2 separate regions of the Homo sapiens genome follow, and region 2 is linked to region 1. The links are contacts of gene promoters, found by promoter capture Hi-C in blood cells and fetal thymus (Javierre and others, 2016). All regions are on one chromosome and are shown on one strand. Each heading gives the region's core, a stretch centred on a gene start or on the middle of the fragment in contact. The rest is flanking DNA. Distances are from core to core; before and after follow the strand shown.

The links. Contacts are between HindIII fragments. The CHiCAGO score rates a contact against its expected background, and 5 or more counts as called.
Region 2: the fragment with the promoter of TTLL3 here is called in contact with a fragment that was not itself captured in region 1 in 8 of 17 cell types (erythroblasts, fetal thymus, total CD4 T cells and 5 more); the score reaches 7.8 in erythroblasts.

Annotation. Positions count from the first base shown.
Region 1 is chr3:10,325,462-10,330,274 of GRCh38, forward strand. ATP2B2 (ATPase plasma membrane Ca2+ transporting 2) reads right to left here. Exons shown (of 23, transcript NM_001001331.4): 23 at 1-3,664. The coding sequence ends at 3,353. It overlaps MIR378B (microRNA 378b), which reads left to right and starts at 4,768; the gene lies at 4,768-4,813. RefSeq lists an enhancer at 2,823-3,371. The HindIII fragment of the contact is 4,701 bases long and covers 756-4,813 here.
Region 2 is chr3:9,808,767-9,813,584 of GRCh38, forward strand. It overlaps TTLL3 (tubulin tyrosine ligase like 3), which reads left to right and starts at 1,496. Exons shown (of 14, transcript NM_001387446.1): 1 at 1,496-1,628; 2 at 1,855-1,943; 3 at 4,177-4,345; 4 at 4,482-4,579. The coding sequence starts at 1,896. ARPC4-TTLL3 (ARPC4-TTLL3 readthrough) reads left to right here. Exons shown (of 12, transcript NM_001198793.1): 5 at 4,177-4,345; 6 at 4,482-4,579. RefSeq lists an enhancer at 568-717 and a silencer at 1,198-1,677. The HindIII fragment of the contact is 3,571 bases long and covers 1-2,854 here.

The DNA of each region.
Region 1 (4,813 bases), core at 1,856-4,355:
GTGGCATTTCAGCATGGTTGGGGAAAAGAGTGGCTTCCAACAACTGGAGGACCCAGGACAAGACAGGTTCAGAGTCCTTTGAGCCAGTGCAGTCATTTTAATTGGTCCAGTCTCAGAAATAGGACTGCCTCTCTCTTGTCATCTCTATGCTATGGTTGGGACAAGGGGACAAGGGGCCATGGTGAGGGGTTGGCGGGAGCAATGGAGGCTGCTCCTGAGTTAAAGAAAGCTCCGCCTGAGTTGCAAGAAGGAAACTCCTCAGAGCTCTCTCTGCTCACCTCCAAAGATGAGTGATTCTGCAGCGCCAGGAGTCACTGAACGGGCTCCCTGCCCTTCCCTCATCTGTTGAGGGGGAGACAAGTTGGTGAGCTTAGCTCTCAGAACCAAATCTGCCACTTACTCCTGGAGCCCTTGTCTAGAGGACAGAAAAGAAGCTATGTGGATGATGCAGTCCCAAAGTAGAAAAAAGTATACATTACAGATATATTTACTATGTTCTGTTTGATGTTGTTTTTTGCTTTTTTTTTTAAACCACAAACATTTCAGAACCACACTGCACGAGTCAGAAGAGCCAGCGATTGAAAGCATAACCATTGCATAGTATTAAATGAACAGAGATGGTGAGTTCTTTATTTACATTATTGTCTAGATAAAAAAATTCATAAAAACAGATGAATGGTCATAAATTATTTACCCCCTAATGGAGTGAACTGCCAAACGTACCCCATGCTGCTAGATATAGGACGCAGAGTGCAAGCTTTATGTACTACAGTGAGTTTTGACAAACCAACCATTTCGTGTGTGTGTGTGTGTATGTGTGCAAGTGTGAGAGTGAGGGGGTGCATGTGTGCAAGCATCCTTCATTCCTGACAAGAGAAGACCAACGCTAATGTTGGCATTCTTCCATCGCTCCCTGTTCCCTAAGCCAGGCTCCACTGAGAACCCCTCCTGGCTCCGAATGAACATGGAGCATGGTGTGCAAACACAGCTATCCTGATGTCATGGAACGAGGTCACGGACACATGACTGATCAAAGAAGTGGGGAGATGGAAAACTGTGAGAAAGGAAACTCCAAAAAACACCATGTTCCAAGGCTGCCCCATGTTTTACACGTGCAGATCTTTCCTTCCTTGTAGGAGAGCAGTGGGCTGGCTTTGGTGGCGTTTGTACTGGAATCCAATAAGCACATCTGAGGGCTGGTCACCCCTTTGGTTATGCAGTTCCTCTCCTGGATACATTCAGAGATACTTCTTCACGACATTCAGGTGATGCGCTCTTGAAGGTCCTCCTTCCAGGAGGATTTTGCCAGGTGGGATGGGCTGACTTTGAACCCCAAACCCTCAAGTTTTTCCACCGCCATCCAGATGTAGGCCCTCCCAGTTGACTATGGCTCTTTTCCCGAGTGGCTCTCATCTTGTTTGTGGAAGAGTTCTCTGGGCCTGGAGAAGGGAAGGGGCTGGGCTGACACAGCCATCGTGAGGAGGGTCAGCATGAGGAATGGATTTTGCAAGAGAGGCGGAAAGTGTTTGGTTTTCCTCGAAGCATGGGACATCATCGATCATGGTATTCAAAATGTCTTTTGCACTGTACAAGTTTATGGAAAAAAGATCATATGCTGAAAAGTCTCAAAGCAAACTTTGTATTAAATACAAAAGTTCTTTTATGAAAAACGCTGAGACCCACAAAGTGCTTAGCAGTTAAGAGGCTGACATCCAATTAAATAAGCTCTTATTAAGTGGGATTACTAGTGCTGTTGTCTTGGGGAAAAAATAACCACCTTTTCTCACCTGTGATACTGTAGGGTTTCAGAATGGCTTTCTGTTTGGGAAAGCAAGACTTGCTGTTAAAAGGCTACAGTATATATTGTGACTACAGGAAGACAATTTGGTTTAAAATCACACTGAGTACATCTCAATATACACATCATAAGGTTCATTCGGATCTAAATAGTGCAGAGAAAAAGGCTATTCTTCTTCAAAAATAAAAATAAAAGCAGCAAGCCATACTGATCCTCATCCAATATGCCAACAGCTCAGATGCTGCCATTAATAAGGAAACAAACCTGTAAGTTACTAAATAAAAAAAAAAATCAACACAATACCATTTATAATATTTCAACACTACCTCAATCTCTGTACAGACAGTGCCAAAGAGAACCTATTTTTGAAATGCTCTTAGTAAACTCAAGCGAGTTTCATTGAGAGAAAAGTCTTCGAGCAGTGCTTTGCAGATCCTGGCATCCTTGGGCCGGATGGCCGTTAGTGTTGCAAACCCAGGAAGCCTTCTCTCCTCCTCTCCCTTCGTCTACGGAGCATGTTGTTAAACCCCTCAGGATGGCAACTCGGTAGCATTTGGCTTCTGCCTGAGCCTCTCACGGTAGTGACATTATTGAACGGAAATAGCAGGCAAAAATCAGAGCATGGCTATCATAAAACATCCAGGATGCAACCCAGGGGAAGTGTCTGTTGGGCCGAGCTGTTTTTATAGCATCTCAGCCACCAGTGTTCTTAAACCATACAAATAGCCAAAGACGTTATCTACAGGTTTGTAAACAAATTACATTCTTCTTTTAGGACATAAATAAGTTAAAATAGAGCAATTTAAGCGGAAACAAGGCAACATGCCGGCAAAGAAACTTTATATATCCATGTATATATATTTATATATATATATATATATCTACCTATCTATATGGACGTATACAGTCTCGGAAAAGTATACGTTGATATAGATACAAAGAAATGGATATAACCTTGTGAGTGTCTATGAAGTTCTTCGGTTCCATTGGTGCAAATCTACTAGGCGAGTTAAGCTCTGCAATTTCAAAAAGTTATTAAATTAATCTATACAACTGAGACCATGCTGTGCAAGCATTTCAAAAACTCACAGACCAGTGGATTGGATAAATAGTCTCAGAAAAGAGTCTGTTTGCAGTTCCCGCCTAAGAAAACAAACAAACAAACAAAAACCCCTCCCCAACCCCCAAAAACCAAACAAGGGGAGGATTGAAAGTGTACAGTACATTCATGCGGGGGACGTGGTGGCTGGGCGGGTGCATGGCTGGTCCATGTCTGGGTGGGAGCCAGGAAGGGCTTGTTTTGGGAAAACCGCTCACTCCCGTAAGCCCCCAGTGGAGATCCCGCCCCTTGCCTTGAAGTGAAAAAGAGTTCAAACAGCATCGCAGCCAGAGAAAGGGTCTGTGGGTGGAAACGTTGGTTTTCTCTCCAGTATTTGGTTTCCGATTGTTGCTCGTTGCTGCTTGGGTGAGTTGGGTGCCTGGATGGATGGGTGCCCGGAAAGCGGGTGGCAGCGGGGTCCATGAGGGCGGGCGGGCAGGCGAGAGGGTCCTCAGCTAAAGCGACGTCTCCAGGCTGTGGATGGGGCTCCCTGGACTTGAAGAGGTAGCTGATTTGCTTGTGTCGGTCGTCAGGTTGATCCCACTGTCGATGGCGCTGTTGTTCTTGTTGAGGGATGACGGCGGGCTCGAGTTCTGCTTGAGCGCGGCATCTTCTTCCAGGTCGGTGTCATCAATGAGGGGGATGTGGGGCTGGGAATCTTCGATCCGGAATTCAGGATGAGCCATGAAGTTATGGATGGAGGTTCGAGATTCAGGCTTTTCTAAACCTTCATAGAGAGAGCTACGGAACGCCTTCACGACGCGGATCTGCAAGGGAAGCACAGGGGTCAGGAGCACTGCCCAGGGACCACAGCCAGGCTCGGGGGGCTCACAGGAGGGGCGGGTGGGAGAAGGGTTAGGGCAAAGCAGGTGGCTGGAATCCATAGTCGCTGGGTGTTATTAGCATTGACAGGATGGGGGAGAGTGAAAAAGGGGGCTCAGGTTATAGGCATCCTTGAGCTGGTTTTTAAAAATCTCTTTGGTTTTGGTAGAAACTAGTGTTAGGACAGGAGGAATCACCAAGCACCATCAAAGAGATGATGGGGAACAGTGGTTAAAGGAAGCACAGTCGACTCCTGCGGGCACCCACACCTAGTGAGAGACTGAGCCTTGTTCACTTTAAAGCAGAGGTTCAACCATGCAGACAGGGAGGAGGACCAGGTGGGAATCAAGTAGGAAAGAGGAGAGGCTATTAAAAAAATTCATCTTAGGAAAACCACACACAGTTAAGAAACCATACAACATGGAACATGTTACGTGTCACAAACAGAAAAGGCACAGAAAGGAGAGACGGTTGGATGAGTTGGGATGAGAGAGACACATGAGGGCCAAACAGAACGGGAACATCAAACCAAAGGCAGCAAAGCAAACCAAAGCCAACCCAGGGCTTTCTGAGGTGCAGAGCAGAGGCAGCCAGAAAGCACATGGGAGCTGGCGGACAGATGACATTCGGGGGCGGGCTGCATGCCACGGGGAGGCCGGGAGCCACATGGCACACACAGACAGACACACGGCTACACTTGGAAGCCTGGACAATGTGAACGGAGGTCGTTTGTACCCAGCGTTTCTTTCCTTCATGCATTTGGGAGGTAAACACTCGAGTATAGACTCAAAGCCCTGGCCGGCCAGTTATTGGAGCTTGCTTTGGGGTCTCTTATTTCCTGGGGGATTTTGTTTATTTCTTTATTTGTGCTTTGAAAACACAAAACCAAAAAACGAGGCTGGAATCAGATGGCCAAACCCAGCCCCAGTGGGATTCTGGGGTGTGTGGAACTGAGTCACAAAACAGCAAGTTCTTTCATTTTCTGTCTCAGTTGTGAACCACACGTCCTGGGGCCTCAGTTTCCTCCGCTGAAGAATGGGAGGAGGCTGGTCATTGAGTCTTCAAGGCTAGTGGAAAGAGCACTGGACTTGGAG
Region 2 (4,818 bases), core at 246-2,745, 520 kb before region 1:
AAGGGGAGTTGGGGTCAGCTGGACAGGAAGGTGGGGGATCCACCTTCACTCTTAAGAGCACATCTACCCAGTGACTGACAAAGCTGGGCTCTTACCAGGACACTCTTCGACTCTGCCTGCGGGGGCACTGCTAGAGTTTGCCTCTCAAACTGTCCCTGTGTGGTCCTTCTGTGACTGGCAGGCAACCTGAGTGATAACAGGTGTTTAAGAGACAGGCTTTGGAGTCAGACCTGGGTTCCAGTGCTGCCTCTGCTCTGTGATTTGAGGCAAATTGTTTAACATCTTGGAGCCTTACCTCCCCTGTGACTTTTGAGGATAATATTTTGCCAGTGCTTCCAAAAAGGTTGCTTACAGTCTTAGCCTGGGGGCCAGGCATAACTGTTGTGAACTATTACATTTCTTTCGCAGTTGACTCAAATGATTGTTTTTCCATTTCCAGTTTCTGGGGAGGGTGTGCTCTGCACCTTCTTGTTACCCCCATATGCTGCCCTCGCTAAGGACCTTACCCTAGGCCCATCTGCCAGGCCCAGCAGGTCTGATCTGGCCTCACCAGGCTCCAGCCACCCTGGCTGTCTTGTAGTTCGCACAGAGGTTCTTACCCTTCTCAGGGCTGTTGCTGGGACTGTCCCTTCCCTGAAGTGCAGTTCCTCCCCTTTCCCTGGTGACTCCTGACTCCTGGCATTTACACCTTCAGCTTAAATGCGCCACTTTATCTAAAATGCGCCCCCTTCCTGGTTTCACCTCTGCTTGTTCATTGCCCTTATTATACCTGTAAACTATTCTCTTCCTTTGTTACTTGCTTTTTATTCCCCTCACACTGGGCTTTTAGTAAGCTCCATGAGGTCAGGGGCCATTTGTTAGCGCCTATAAATACTGTGGAATCACTCAAACCCTAGGGCCGGTGGCACCAGGAAGTACTGGATAAGGAACCGCAACACTAACTAACTGGGGCTCAGTGCTCTCTTCCGCCTTCAGTGCCCTGCTCATCAAGGGTCTGGGTGAGGCCCCAGGTCATAAGGAAGCCCTCGCTCGACTGCCCCGGGGCCCATCGCAGCCCCCAACCAGCCCCGAGCGGTCTGATGGTGCCCAGGGAATGGTTTCCAAGGCAATAGCAAACGGGGCGGGGCTTGGAACGGAGGACAAGGCTCGAGCCTAGGCAGGAACTTCCCGGGAGAGGAGGCGGCGACGCGGAGGGGCGCGGGATCAGGGGCCCTGGGAGGGCGAGCGCGGCGAGGGGCGCATGCAGGGCCCCGACGCGCCACTGCTCCTGAGCGCGAGGGAGCTGGGGCCCGGGCGCCGGGGCTCGGCCTCCTGGTACCGCCAGGAGGGCGGCGCGGTGTGCAACTGGCTGCGGAAGCCGCAGCCGCTCGAGCCACGCACCAGTTTCCCCTCGGCGCGCCGCTCCGAGTTCCGTCCACCCAGGAGGCTGCCATGGGCCGGCCCTGCCTCCGCCCAGTCCGAGGAGGGTCACGCAGGCGGCAGATGCCAGGCGGGCAGCCCCGCCCCTGCGCGCCGCCTCAGCGGCGCCTTCAAGACGCTGGTCCCAGGCACCCACGCCCAGGGCGCCTCGGATACCCACCCCCTCGGCCCCCCGCACACCCCGGTCCTCGACCCCTCTCCGCAGGATGGTGAGGCCCGTGCGGCCCGCTCGCTCTGGCCTACAGCGGCTGCGAGGACGACAAGACGCTGGGGTGGAGGGACTGGGGGTCGGGAGAAGAGCGGCTGAGGGTGGGCATCTGGATGAAGGCAGGAGGAAGAAAAGAGGCGTGGCTATGGGCGGCCAGAAAAGATCCTAGGCCGAGACCCTAGGCCCAGCCTCAGTGTACCCCGCCCCTATTCCGCATCTTTCTGCAGGTTTCCCGGTCCTCTGGCGAGGATCCTCCAAGGCGTCTCACATGAACCGGCTCAGAAACGCCAAAATCTACGTGGAGAGAGCTGTCAAGGTCAGAGGAGGGGCAGGGGCGCTTAGAAAGGGCCCTGGGAGCGGCTCAGCCTGTCTCCCTGCGCTGTTTTCTTATATCCTTAAAAAACAAAAGCAAAAGAAAAAACAATAGCAAAAATCCTCAACCACCACACCCATCTTCAACTACCTCCCCGTTTACCCCTTCAGCACCAAACTTCTGGGCTCCCTCCACTCTGGTTCCCTGCGATGTCCCACTCTAATCAAGGTGCCTGGTGAGTTCCAGGGAGCCAAACCCAGCAGTGCCTTTCGGTCTTGATCTCGGTTGGGCACCCTGTATCTTTCGACACCGCTGCCCCACACACCCTTCCTCTTGGCTGTCTGACTGCACGCTCCTAGTTTTCCTTTCTCCCTCTTTGGCTGCTGCTTTTCAGCGGCCTTTAAAGGTTCCTCAGCCATTAGTGGCCCCCTGGCCCCTTCCCCAGGTCTGTCTCCTTTGGCTGTGTCCTTGGCTGAGTCCAGTCAGTGTGCTGCACCCTCTCCGTGCCCCTTCCAGCCCAGCCTCGAACTCCACATCCCGTAGATCTAGCCCCTACCTGTCATCTACACCCAGAAAACTTAACAAGCATTTCAAATTCATGTCCCAAACCAGACTTTGATCTTCCTGCCCAAACCTGTCGTCCTCCCCAGTCTCCAGTCTTTCCCATCTCTCAGTTCCTCACGCCAGAAATCTCATCTTTCTGTTTCTTCACCCACAGGTCTAATTCCATCAGCAAAACCACTTGTCATCTCCACCTCCAAAACGATTCTCAACTCTAGCACCTTCTCCCGTCTGTGTTGTAACCACCTTCATTTTAGTAATTGTGATTTCTCTCCTAGGCAAACTATGACAGCCTCCTAGCTGGTCTACCTCCATCCTGTCCCCTCATCTTTTTGTAATACAGCAGCAAGCCAAGCTTAGAAAGATTCCCTCAGTTAGCCTTTTTTGCTCATGACACTCTTAGTATGAAATCCAAGTCCGTTCCAAGGCCTGCAGGGCCTTCCACAGTCTGGCCACTGCCTACCTCCTCTGGGGCTTTCCCCATCATTTTCCATGTTCCACTCACTCTGGTCTCCCTTCAGTTCCTTCTGACCTCTCTCCAGCCTCAAGGCCTTTGCACATGCATTCCCCTCTGCCTGAACCGCCATTTCCCAGCTCTGTACATTCATGGCTTCCTTTCAACCTTCCCTGACCATGTATTTCTAAGTAGTTTCTCTGGATCCCATTAAGTATGCAGTTTCTGGAGCCAAACTGCCAGGATGTAAATCCCTGCTCTTTTGCTTAACCACTATGGGGCCTCAGGCACCCTGCTTAATTTCTCTATGCCTCTGTTTCATAGCCCGTAAAATGGAGATAACAGTATCTAATAAAAATGCATAGTATTGGCCAGACGCGGTGGCTTACACCTGTAATCCCAGCATTTTGGGAGGCCAAGTCAGGAGGATCACTTGAGGCCAGGAGTTGGAGACCAGCCTGGCCAACACAGTGAAGCCCAGTCTCTACCAAAAAATATAAAAATTATTTGGGCACCAGATGAGGTGGCTGACGCCTGTAATTTCAGCACTTTGGGAGGCCAAGGCGGGCCTTGGCCTGAGGCCAGGAGTTCAAGACCAGCGTGGCCAATATGGTGAAACCCTGTCTCTACTAAAAATACAAAAATTAGCCGGGCGCAGTGGCACACGCCTGTACTCCCAGCTACTGGGGAGGCTGAGGCAGGAGAATCGCTCGAACCCGGGAGGTGGAGGTTGCAGTGAGCCAAGATTGTGCCACTCCAGCCTGGGCAACAGAGCAAGACTCCGTCTCAAAAAAAAAAAATTATCTGGGCGTGGTGGCATACACCTGTAATCCCAGGTACTCAAGGAGACTGAGGCAAGAGAATCGCTTGAACCCAGGAGGAAGAGGGTGCAGTGAGCCGAGATTGTGCCACTACACTTCAGCCTGGGCAACAGAGTGAGACCCTGTCTCAAACAAAACAAAATAAAAACACACAGTATTGTTAGTAATGCATGTAAGTGCTCAGCATGTAGTAGGTCCTCAATAAATATTAGCCATTGCTATTATCATTATTACCATGCATATTTATTTCTCTACTTATTTATAGTCTGTTTATTTCTCCTAATGGAATATAAAAATTTCCTGATGGCAGAGTCCATAACTGTCTGGTTCACCTTTATATCCCCTATGTCTGGCACTTATGCAATACTTATTGAAGAAGTATCCTTCTCTCACATTGCAGCAGAAGAAGATCTTTACAATCCAAGGCTGCTACCCGGTGATCCGGTGTCTCTTGCGCCGGAGGGGCTGGGTGGAGAAGAAGATGGTCCATCGCTCAGGCCCCACCCTGCTGCCACCCCAGAAGGATCTGGATAGCTCAGCGATGGGTGACAGTGACACCACTGAGGATGGTGAGTGGTTCCTTCCCTTTCCACAGCTGTTGCTCCTGAGTCCTTTTCCTTTGGTTCCCACTGTCCCAGAGTTGAGGCCTTATGGGCTATGGGTCAGGGAGAGGAAACTCATCAGCTCTGGGCTCTGCATCCACAGAGGATGAAGATGAGGACGAGGAGTTCCAGCCATCACAGCTGTTCGACTTCGATGATTTACTGAAATTTGATGACCTAGATGGAACACATGCTCTGATGGTGAGGGCCCTGGGGGCCAAGATGATACAGGGACTGCCTGCTTAGAGGGAGGGCATTGGTGTCCAGCTGGGTGACCTCAGACAAGTCCTTTCTTTCTCTGGGCCACAGTTTCCCTATCTGTAGTAAAAACTGCTTCTTTAAAGGCTGGATAGAGCTGGACATGGTGGCTCATGCCTGTGGTCCCAGCTACTCAGGAGGCCAAGGTGGGAGGATAACTTGAGGCTAGGAGTTCAAGACCA